3 separate regions of the Homo sapiens genome follow, and all the other regions are linked to region 1. The links are contacts of gene promoters, found by promoter capture Hi-C in blood cells and fetal thymus (Javierre and others, 2016). All regions are on one chromosome and are shown on one strand. Each heading gives the region's core, a stretch centred on a gene start or on the middle of the fragment in contact. The rest is flanking DNA. Distances are from core to core; before and after follow the strand shown. Region 1 holds the start of EIF3K (eukaryotic translation initiation factor 3 subunit K). Region 2 holds the start of RPS16 (ribosomal protein S16). Region 3 holds the start of PAF1 (PAF1 component of Paf1/RNA polymerase II complex).

The links. The method cuts DNA at HindIII sites, captures the fragments that hold promoters and counts their contacts. A CHiCAGO score of 5 or more calls a contact.
Region 2: a contact is called between the fragment with the promoter of RPS16 here and the fragment with the promoter of EIF3K in region 1, in 2 of 17 cell types (monocytes and total B cells). The highest score is 5.4, in monocytes.
Region 3: a contact is called between the fragment with the promoter of PAF1 here and the fragment with the promoter of EIF3K in region 1, in 10 of 17 cell types (fetal thymus, naive CD4 T cells, total B cells and 7 more). The highest score is 23.2, in fetal thymus.

The regions. Positions count from the first base shown.
Region 1 is chr19:38,617,938-38,620,500 of GRCh38, reverse strand. It overlaps EIF3K (eukaryotic translation initiation factor 3 subunit K), which reads right to left and starts at 1,313. Exons shown (of 8, transcript NM_013234.4): 1 at 1,174-1,313; 2 at 66-164. The coding sequence starts at 1,232. It overlaps MAP4K1 (mitogen-activated protein kinase kinase kinase kinase 1), which reads left to right and starts at 2,548. Exons shown (of 31, transcript NM_001042600.3): 1 at 2,548-2,563. RefSeq lists an enhancer at 1,975-2,024. The HindIII fragment of the contact is 6,969 bases long and covers 1-1,545 here.
Region 2 is chr19:39,434,658-39,437,220 of GRCh38, reverse strand. RPS16 (ribosomal protein S16) reads left to right here and starts at 1,272. Exons shown (of 5, transcript NM_001020.6): 1 at 1,272-1,373; 2 at 1,513-1,614. The coding sequence starts at 1,326. RefSeq lists a silencer at 1,019-1,118 and an enhancer at 1,499-2,078. The HindIII fragment of the contact is 27,347 bases long and covers 1-2,563 here.
Region 3 is chr19:39,389,810-39,392,372 of GRCh38, reverse strand. It overlaps PAF1 (PAF1 component of Paf1/RNA polymerase II complex), which reads left to right and starts at 1,267. Exons shown (of 14, transcript NM_019088.4): 1 at 1,267-1,555; 2 at 2,084-2,113; 3 at 2,212-2,304. The coding sequence starts at 1,509. MED29 (mediator complex subunit 29) reads right to left here and starts at 995. Exons shown (of 4, transcript NM_017592.4): 1 at 735-995. The coding sequence starts at 950. It also overlaps a transcript of SAMD4B not described here. RefSeq lists an enhancer at 651-940 and a silencer at 2,478-2,563. The HindIII fragment of the contact is 958 bases long and covers 931-1,888 here.

The DNA of each region.
Region 1 (2,563 bases), core at 64-2,563:
TGTACTGGGAGTGGCACCCTGCTAGTTGCTGCAATGGGAGTGTAGACAGAGAGCTAGACACTTACAGCTTCAGGACAGCCAGGTTGGCTTCCAGATCATAGGCATTTTCCTTGGCCTGCGTCTCTACATAGCGCTCCAGGGTGGCCAGGTTCTCAGGATTGTACCTAAAGGAGAATCAAGATAGGTGAGCACAGAGGAGACAGAAGCTGAGGCCAGCCACCTTATGGAGCAAGGGGCCACTGTAACCTGCTCCTCCCGCCCTTCCCCTCTAAATCTGGCACTGGCCACTTGCTCTATCCAGGTAGTGAATTATGTCCAGTATAATCTCTAGTAAAACTTATTCTTATCCCAGACCTCTCGCCTAAGCTCTAAACTCCACTGGAGCCCTGGCTCTTCCCTAGGATGCCTCCTCAACCTCTGAGCCAGTCAGTCACTGCAGCTTGTACACCTGGCCTCCTGAATGTCTCTGCTACTCACCCCTTCCTCCCCTGTTCAGGCCTCCACCCTGATCCAGCCCCATCCTCTCCTGCCTACCTCGCTGCCTACTTCCTCCATGTCCACCTGAACACTCTGGCCTTTGCTTCCCCCATTTCAGTTCTAATCTCTCCCGGCTATCGCTGTCTGCTGTCAGGTTTGTCTCCCTTATGGAAAGGGAACTCAGACCGTGAAGGCATGATCTGCCGCTGTCTGATTCGCCTGTGGTTCCCAGCATTGCCTAGCACTGACAGTTTATTTCAGTAAACGTGTGGAGAATGAATGACTTATAGAGCAGAGAAGGGAGAGATTAAGAGGCACTCAAAGGAGGCGGAGCAGAGAAGGAAACCTTAAGGCAATTTACGAAGAGACTGAGTGGTACCAAGATTCTCTCGCTTCTAGGCCTTTGCAGTGCTTTTGTTTCTTTCTTTTAGAGACGGGGTTTGGCTGTTGCCCAGGCTGGTCTCTAACTCCTGGGCTCAGGCGACCCACCTACCTCGGCCTCCCAAAGTGCTAGGATCACAGGCGTGAGCCACTACCCCCAGCTCAGTGCCGTTTCTTTAAGCATCTCCTCCTCCAGGAGGATAGAGAAACCCCACCCCGCGGCAAGCCCAGGACCCTGAACACCCCTTGCTGTCTCCGGAAAACCCTCTCCTCCGCCCCGCTTGGCCAGAGCGCTTCCTCCAACCGGGCTCAGACCTGTCGATACCCTTGAGCAACTTGCCCACGTTGGCTCTCATCTGCTCAAACATCGCCATGACTTCTGTCGCCTTCCACAACCAGGGCTGGAGGCTAACACTGACCCGGCACGGCGTCCTCAAGGACGGGAACAGGAAGAGGTGGTGGAAACGGAAACGACGTCGTTGTTGTCGCTCCAGCTCCTTGGGTGCGGTAAAGGGAAAGGCTCTAGCAGCAGCCGCCACGCTTTCCGGCTGCCACGTGACTTCTTCCTCGCAGGCGCAATTGGCGCGTGCGCATTCGCGCCACTCAAGCTGGACAGACAGCGTGAGAAAAATCTTACTGGATCCCAGTGCGCAGGCGCCTCTCGTGGCGAGGGGGCGGGGCTAAGCTTTTCCCGGGCCTCACAGACCCAGTTCCAGTGCCGGTAGCGCGGGAGCGTGCGCGCGCGAACTCACCGGGAAGCACCCGGAGCTCTGGCGGCGTGCGCGCGCGTTGTATTGCGCGCGGCCATGAGGCCACGGAGCTCTGCGGGAATGCACGCAGCAGCCTTACGTTTAGGCCATGGCCAAGTTCCGAGGGAGGTGTTCTGAGGTCCCTCTTGCCACAGGCCTGGGCGCCTGGTGCAGGATCCTGAGCTCTCCAGTTTCAAGTCTCAGCCCTTGGTCCCCAGCTCCAGGAGGAGGGTCCCACAAAGCTACTGTGCTCTGCCGGGCAGGGGCTGGGGTGAGGGCTCCTGGACTTCGCCGGATCGCGCCCCGTCTCCATTAGGTTCCGGTCTTGGAGCTGAGGGCGAGCGTCCCATTTGTACTGCCATGAATTATATATTATGTATAGGTTTTGTACACTGCAGGCCTACAAAATGCAGTTATGTGCCATGCATGTGGAGGTATATGTCCTGGGTACATCCACGTGTGTACTGTGCACACAGGTATCCAGGCAGATGCACGTCTACACGCCTGCGCAGTGCAGAGGAGGTAACCCAAGTGCATGTATGTGACAGGTGAACAGGCATGTACACTGCATAGCCATCCCTTTGCAGACCTGCCGCCTTCGGGTTGTGGCCAAACCTTCAAGCACCCAGCAGAGGTTTAGACACTACCTAGGAGACGGGGGCGGGGGTTCTAAGGCACCCCCCTCCAACCCAGTTACGATTAAGATCATTTGCATCACATTTACATCCAGCCCTGGGCCTTGGAGGTTGAGGGTGGTCCCTTGGGTCCCAAGACAAGCTGCCCCTCAGAGGCTCTCAGAGCCCAGGGGACGGGGGGGTGGAGCCCGTTGCACAGTCGTGCAGTGCAGCTGGGGCAGGAAGCGAGAGTGAGGAGGGGGGAGGCCACAGCCCGCGGAGGCAAGGCGGGTGCAGGGCTTCTGGGGACGGAGGGAGGTGCCAGAAGTTGAGCCCTGAGGC
Region 2 (2,563 bases), core at 23-2,522, 820 kb before region 1:
TGAGGCGGATCACATCACCTGAGGTCAGGAGTTCGAGACCAGCCTGGCCAACGTGGTGAAACCCCATTTCTACTAAAAATACAAAAAACGACCAGGGCGTGGTGGTAGACGCCTGTAATTCCAGCTACTCGGGAGCCTAAGGCAGGAGAATCTCTTGAACCCGGGAGGCGGAGGTTGCAGTGAGACGAGATCGCACCACTGCACTCTAGCCAGGGCAACGAGCGAAACTCCGTCTCAAAAAAAAGAGAGAGATTCTAGGGTGGGGACGGGGAAGAGGTTAATTCTTGGGGGAGGGTCTCTTAGGAGAGGGGGATTCTAACGGAGGGAAAACTCCAGGGAAGGCAGTTGCTGGGAAGAGGAGTCTCGGAAGGGAAATAAACTCAGGAGAAAGGTAGATTTTGAGGGACGGGTCTCTGAGAGAAAAGTTTTTGTGGATTTGCGGGGCGGGGTGTTCTGGGAAAGGGGGATTTGCCGGGAAAGGGGGATTTGCCGGGAAAGGGAGATTCTGGAGGAGGGAGATTCCAGGGGTACTGGGTCCTGACAAGAGAAAGATTCTGGGAAGGGTGACTGAGGGGACGAGGACCGAATGGAGGGAGATTCAGGGAAAAGGGGGGTCTAAGTTGAGCACTCTTAAGAGGGACATTTGGGGTTGGCCATCTGAGAGAAGGATGGGAAACATTCTGGGAAGAGGAAACTGAAAGGAAGGACATTCTGGTGAAAGGGAGATTCTGAGGGGAAGGGGCTCTGAGGGGAAAAGGATTCTGGGAGAGGATCCCCAAGGAGGGGGATTCTAGGGAGGATAGGATTCTGGAAGTCCTTAATCTGAGAATCCAGCCAGATTTCTTGCAGTAGATTCCAAAGGAAGATTCTGATGCGGGGGATTCGGGGAGGAGGGAGTCCAGAGGGGAGAAAGATTACAGGTGTTGGGAGGGTGGGAACTGATTTAAAGAAAGGGCGAAGGGAGATTATTAAAGAGCCAGAATGCAAAGAAGAGCTGCGGTAGTCGACTACAGAGGACGCGAAGCACACTCCCGCAGCCTTCCCTTCAGTCCGCACACGACACTCCCAGGCCCCGCCCCTTCCGCCCACAGAGCCCGCCACTTCCGCCTCACAGGGCCCGCCCGCTCTGAGCGCCTAAGGGCCTTCCCGCCGCTGACCAGACGCCCCGCCCGTTAGCCGCAACAGAAGCCGTAAAGCTCTCTCCCGTCGCGACGCAGTGCTCAAGGCGCCTGCGCAGACCCTGAAAAGCGGCCAGGGTGGCCCCTAGCTTTCCTTTTCCGGTTGCGGCGCCGCGCGGTGAGGTTGTCTAGTCCACGCTCGGAGCCATGCCGTCCAAGGGCCCGCTGCAGTCTGTGCAGGTCTTCGGACGCAAGGTGAGCCAGACGCCGGATGGGAAGGGGAGGGGAAGGAGAAGGCCAGGGTCTGGGAGAGGTCGGTGGGCAGGAATCTAGGGGGTAACATGGGAGCTGGAGCCGGAGCTCACGGGGCCCCTGTTTCTCTTGTATCTTACAGAAGACAGCGACAGCTGTGGCGCACTGCAAACGCGGCAATGGTCTCATCAAGGTGAACGGGCGGCCCCTGGAGATGATTGAGCCGCGCACGCTACAGTACAAGGTGCTGGGATCCGGCACCGGCGTTGAGTGGATGGAGGACTCTTGGAGACAGAGATGTTGTAGCTCTTGAAAGCTGGGGGGGCTGGCATCAGCAACGGGATGTTTAGAAGTTGTGTTGGGTGTAGAACAGTGGGGTATTTGGCAATAGAGCTGGGCTTGGGGTTCAGAAGATGTAAAAGCTGAGATGGGGTTGTTGAAGATTAAGGGTTTGCTTTGAGAACTGGGATGTTAGGAAGCTCACCTCACTGGGGCGGGGGGACCCAAAGGGTGAAGGGACACCGACTATTTTTTATTTTATTTATTTGTTTTGAGAGGGAGTCTCGCTGTGTCGCCCAGGCTGGAGTGTAGTGGCGCGATCTCGGATCACTGCAACCTTCGCCTCCCGGGTTAAAGCGATTCTCCTGCCTCAGCCTCTTGAGTAGCTGAGATTACAGGCATGCACCACCACGCCCGGCTAATTTTTGTATTTTTAGTAGAGACGGGGTTTCGCCATATTGGCCAGAGTGGTCTCGAACTCATTACCTCAGGTGATCCACCAGCCTCGGCCTCCCGAAGTGCTGGGATTGCAGGCGTCAGCCACCGTGTGCGGCCGAATTTGGGTCTGTTTAAATGCTTGCTTGTAAAAGGGGTTCCTCTGTTCCCTTTTTGGGACTCTCAATTTCTTTGGCTCAGAATGGAAAGAAACCAGAGTCTGATTTCTGCCCCTTCTGAACTCTACTACTTTTAAAAGAAAGAATATCTACATTGCAGGGTCAGTTAAAAAAATTTTTTTTGAGTTATAAGGTTCTTTTTTAAAAACAGTATCTTGCTGTCACCTACCCTGGAGTGCAATAGCACAATCCTAATGAACTGCAGCCTTAAACTCCTGAGTTGGAGATCCTCCCACCTCAGCCTTTCGGTTGCCAAGACTACAGGCACATCACCACGCCTGGCTCATTTGAGAAATATTT
Region 3 (2,563 bases), core at 18-2,517, 770 kb before region 1:
CTCAGGTTTTCTTTTCAACTGGCACCTTCCCTCCTGACTTTCCAAAGTAATATTCGTTTCCATTCCTATAGCTGTCACCACTCCATCCTCCCAGAGGCCCGCTCTCACCTGAGCTTCTCGCCAATAACCTAAGGGTCCTCCCTCACCTATCAATCAAGGGCAGAATCTCCGTATAAGCCAGTACTCTCCTCAGGCTTTAACGACCAGAGCCCAGTTTCTCCTTTAAACAACCCCTCACTCAAGCTCCGGCCAGTCCCAGCCTCAGCATCAGCGCTGATCCCATCTCTGCCGAGCTTCGCTTAGGTCTCGCAGAAAACAACAGTTTTATTTATTTATTTATTTATTTTTTTGACGGAGTCTCGCTCTGTTGCCCAGGCTGGAGTGCAATGGCACGATGTCGGCTCACTGCAACCTCCGCCTCCTGGGTTCAAGCGATTCTCCTGCCTCAGCTTCCCGAGTAGCTGTAATTACAGGCGCGCGCCACCATGCCCGGCTAATTTTTGTATTTTTAGTAGAGACGAGGTTTCACCAGGCTGGTCTTGAACTCCTGACCTCAAGTGATCCGCCCGCCTCGGCCTCCCAAAGTGCTGGGAACACAGGCGTGCACCAGCCAGGCCAAAACAGCAGGTTCTATTCCTCTTTCTGCTTAGCGCTCTCTCCGACTAACCTGGCCCTCGGCCTGCCCCTCTAGACTACCAAATCCAGTTTGCTTCTCGCTGCTTAAGGCCAATCACCTGTAGACTCTCCTTCAGCTGCGGGATGAGCATCTTATAACGCTGCACAGGATCGAAGTCCTGTTGCTGTTGCTGCAGGAGGCCGCTCTGGGCAGGGCCCACCAGTTGTGCTGGCGGTTGCGGCTGCTGCTGGGGACCCGGGCCGCCAGCCGAACTAGGACCCGATACACCAGCAGCTGAGGAAGCCGCTGAAGCTTGCTGCTGGGATGCAGCCATCTTCCTCGCGTAGACCGCCGGAAGTGCGTTACGACTGCGTCTCTCCCCGTTGCTTTTCAGCATCCCTATTTCTAGTCCCCGTTTGCTAGTTAGTCCCGCCCCCTAGGCAATTAAGCCAATGGAGGGGAAGGAGGTGCCCCAACGTTACGTCACTCTCAAATCTGCGTCCAGACTGAGATATCTCTCCACCAATCACAGAAGCACCTCTCTCCCTCGCTCCGCCCTTCACCCAGACGCTCGCCAATCCGTGTGTGGTTCCGAGCCGGACTTCATTTCCCCGAAGGCGTCGCGGCCTGAGGAGACCCGTTGGGTCCTCAGCGTCTTGGCGGCAGTTGGTGGAACCGGAGCTTCGAGTCCGTCCCCGGTGCTGCCTGCGCGTTCACCTGAGTCTCGCTGGAGCTCTTCTCGCCCGCCCACCTCATCTCAACCCACTTTCCGCGGGGAGCGGCGCCAAGCTGGGCCTTCCTCGGATCAGGCGTCCCCTGAAGTCGGCACGCCCCTCTGCGTCCCCCTTCGGTCCCGCTAGGACCCCGTCCGGGCTGCCGTCGCCTCGTCGCTATGGCGCCCACCATCCAGACCCAGGCCCAGCGGGAGGATGGCCACAGGTAGGCGCCACGCTTTTCTGTTGCAGCAAGGCGGGGGATCGGGAGAGGGTTTCTGCTGAACAACGTCACCAGCCCCCAGGTCTGCCCGTGACGTCATGAAGCGCTCACCTTTGACGAAGGGGGCGGGTTCCTTCTGAGATTCAGGTGTTCCCCTCCTCCCCGCCGTGCAGTTCAGGGATTAGGCTTTTGGAGACTCCCTCCAGAAGGGATCCCTCCAGTCAACCGTTTGGAGACCCCTCTTCCGAAGACGATTGAGTACATGGTTCTTTATTAAAGCACTTGAAGCCATCTCCTGCAAAAGGGATTGAGCACTTGGCCTTGTTCATTAAAGCTTTTGGGGGCATTTCTTCCTAAATAAATTGAACATTTGTCTCCTTCCATTAAAGCATTTGGACACTCCCCACACCACCACCCAAAGAAACCAGCATTTGTCACCCCTCCTACCTTTTGAAAGGTTGGGGAAGCCTTTTTCATTCTCCTGTCAATCCCGTCCTCTCCACCTATCACTGTTTCTTTCTTCTCCACTAGGCCCAATTCCCACCGGACTCTGCCTGAGAGGTGAGCCCCACTGTGCTTTCCCAGGAGCGGTGGGGCAGTGGGGCTGGGAGCAGAGGTGGGGCAGCGGGGGCCCACTTTTGAGCCACTAATGTTCCTAGGTCTGGAGTGGTCTGCCGAGTCAAGTACTGCAATAGCCTCCCTGATATCCCCTTCGACCCCAAGTTCATCACCTACCCCTTCGACCAGAACAGGTGAGACTAAGGAATGGGAAAACTACTCAGGTATGAGTTCCTTGAAGGCAGGGACTGCTTGTCTCGTTGGCTGCTGTCTGCTCAGGGCCTAGCACAGTACCTACCCTAGCACATAGTAGTAGCTGCTCAATTGTTAATGGAGCAAGCAGTGTCCAAGTCCCTTCCCACTGGGGAGCCAGCTTTCAGACTCTGCCATGGGGGACACTTCATTCTGAGTTCCTCCCCAGAGAAGCTCCGCCTCTGGGAAGCAGGGCTGTGA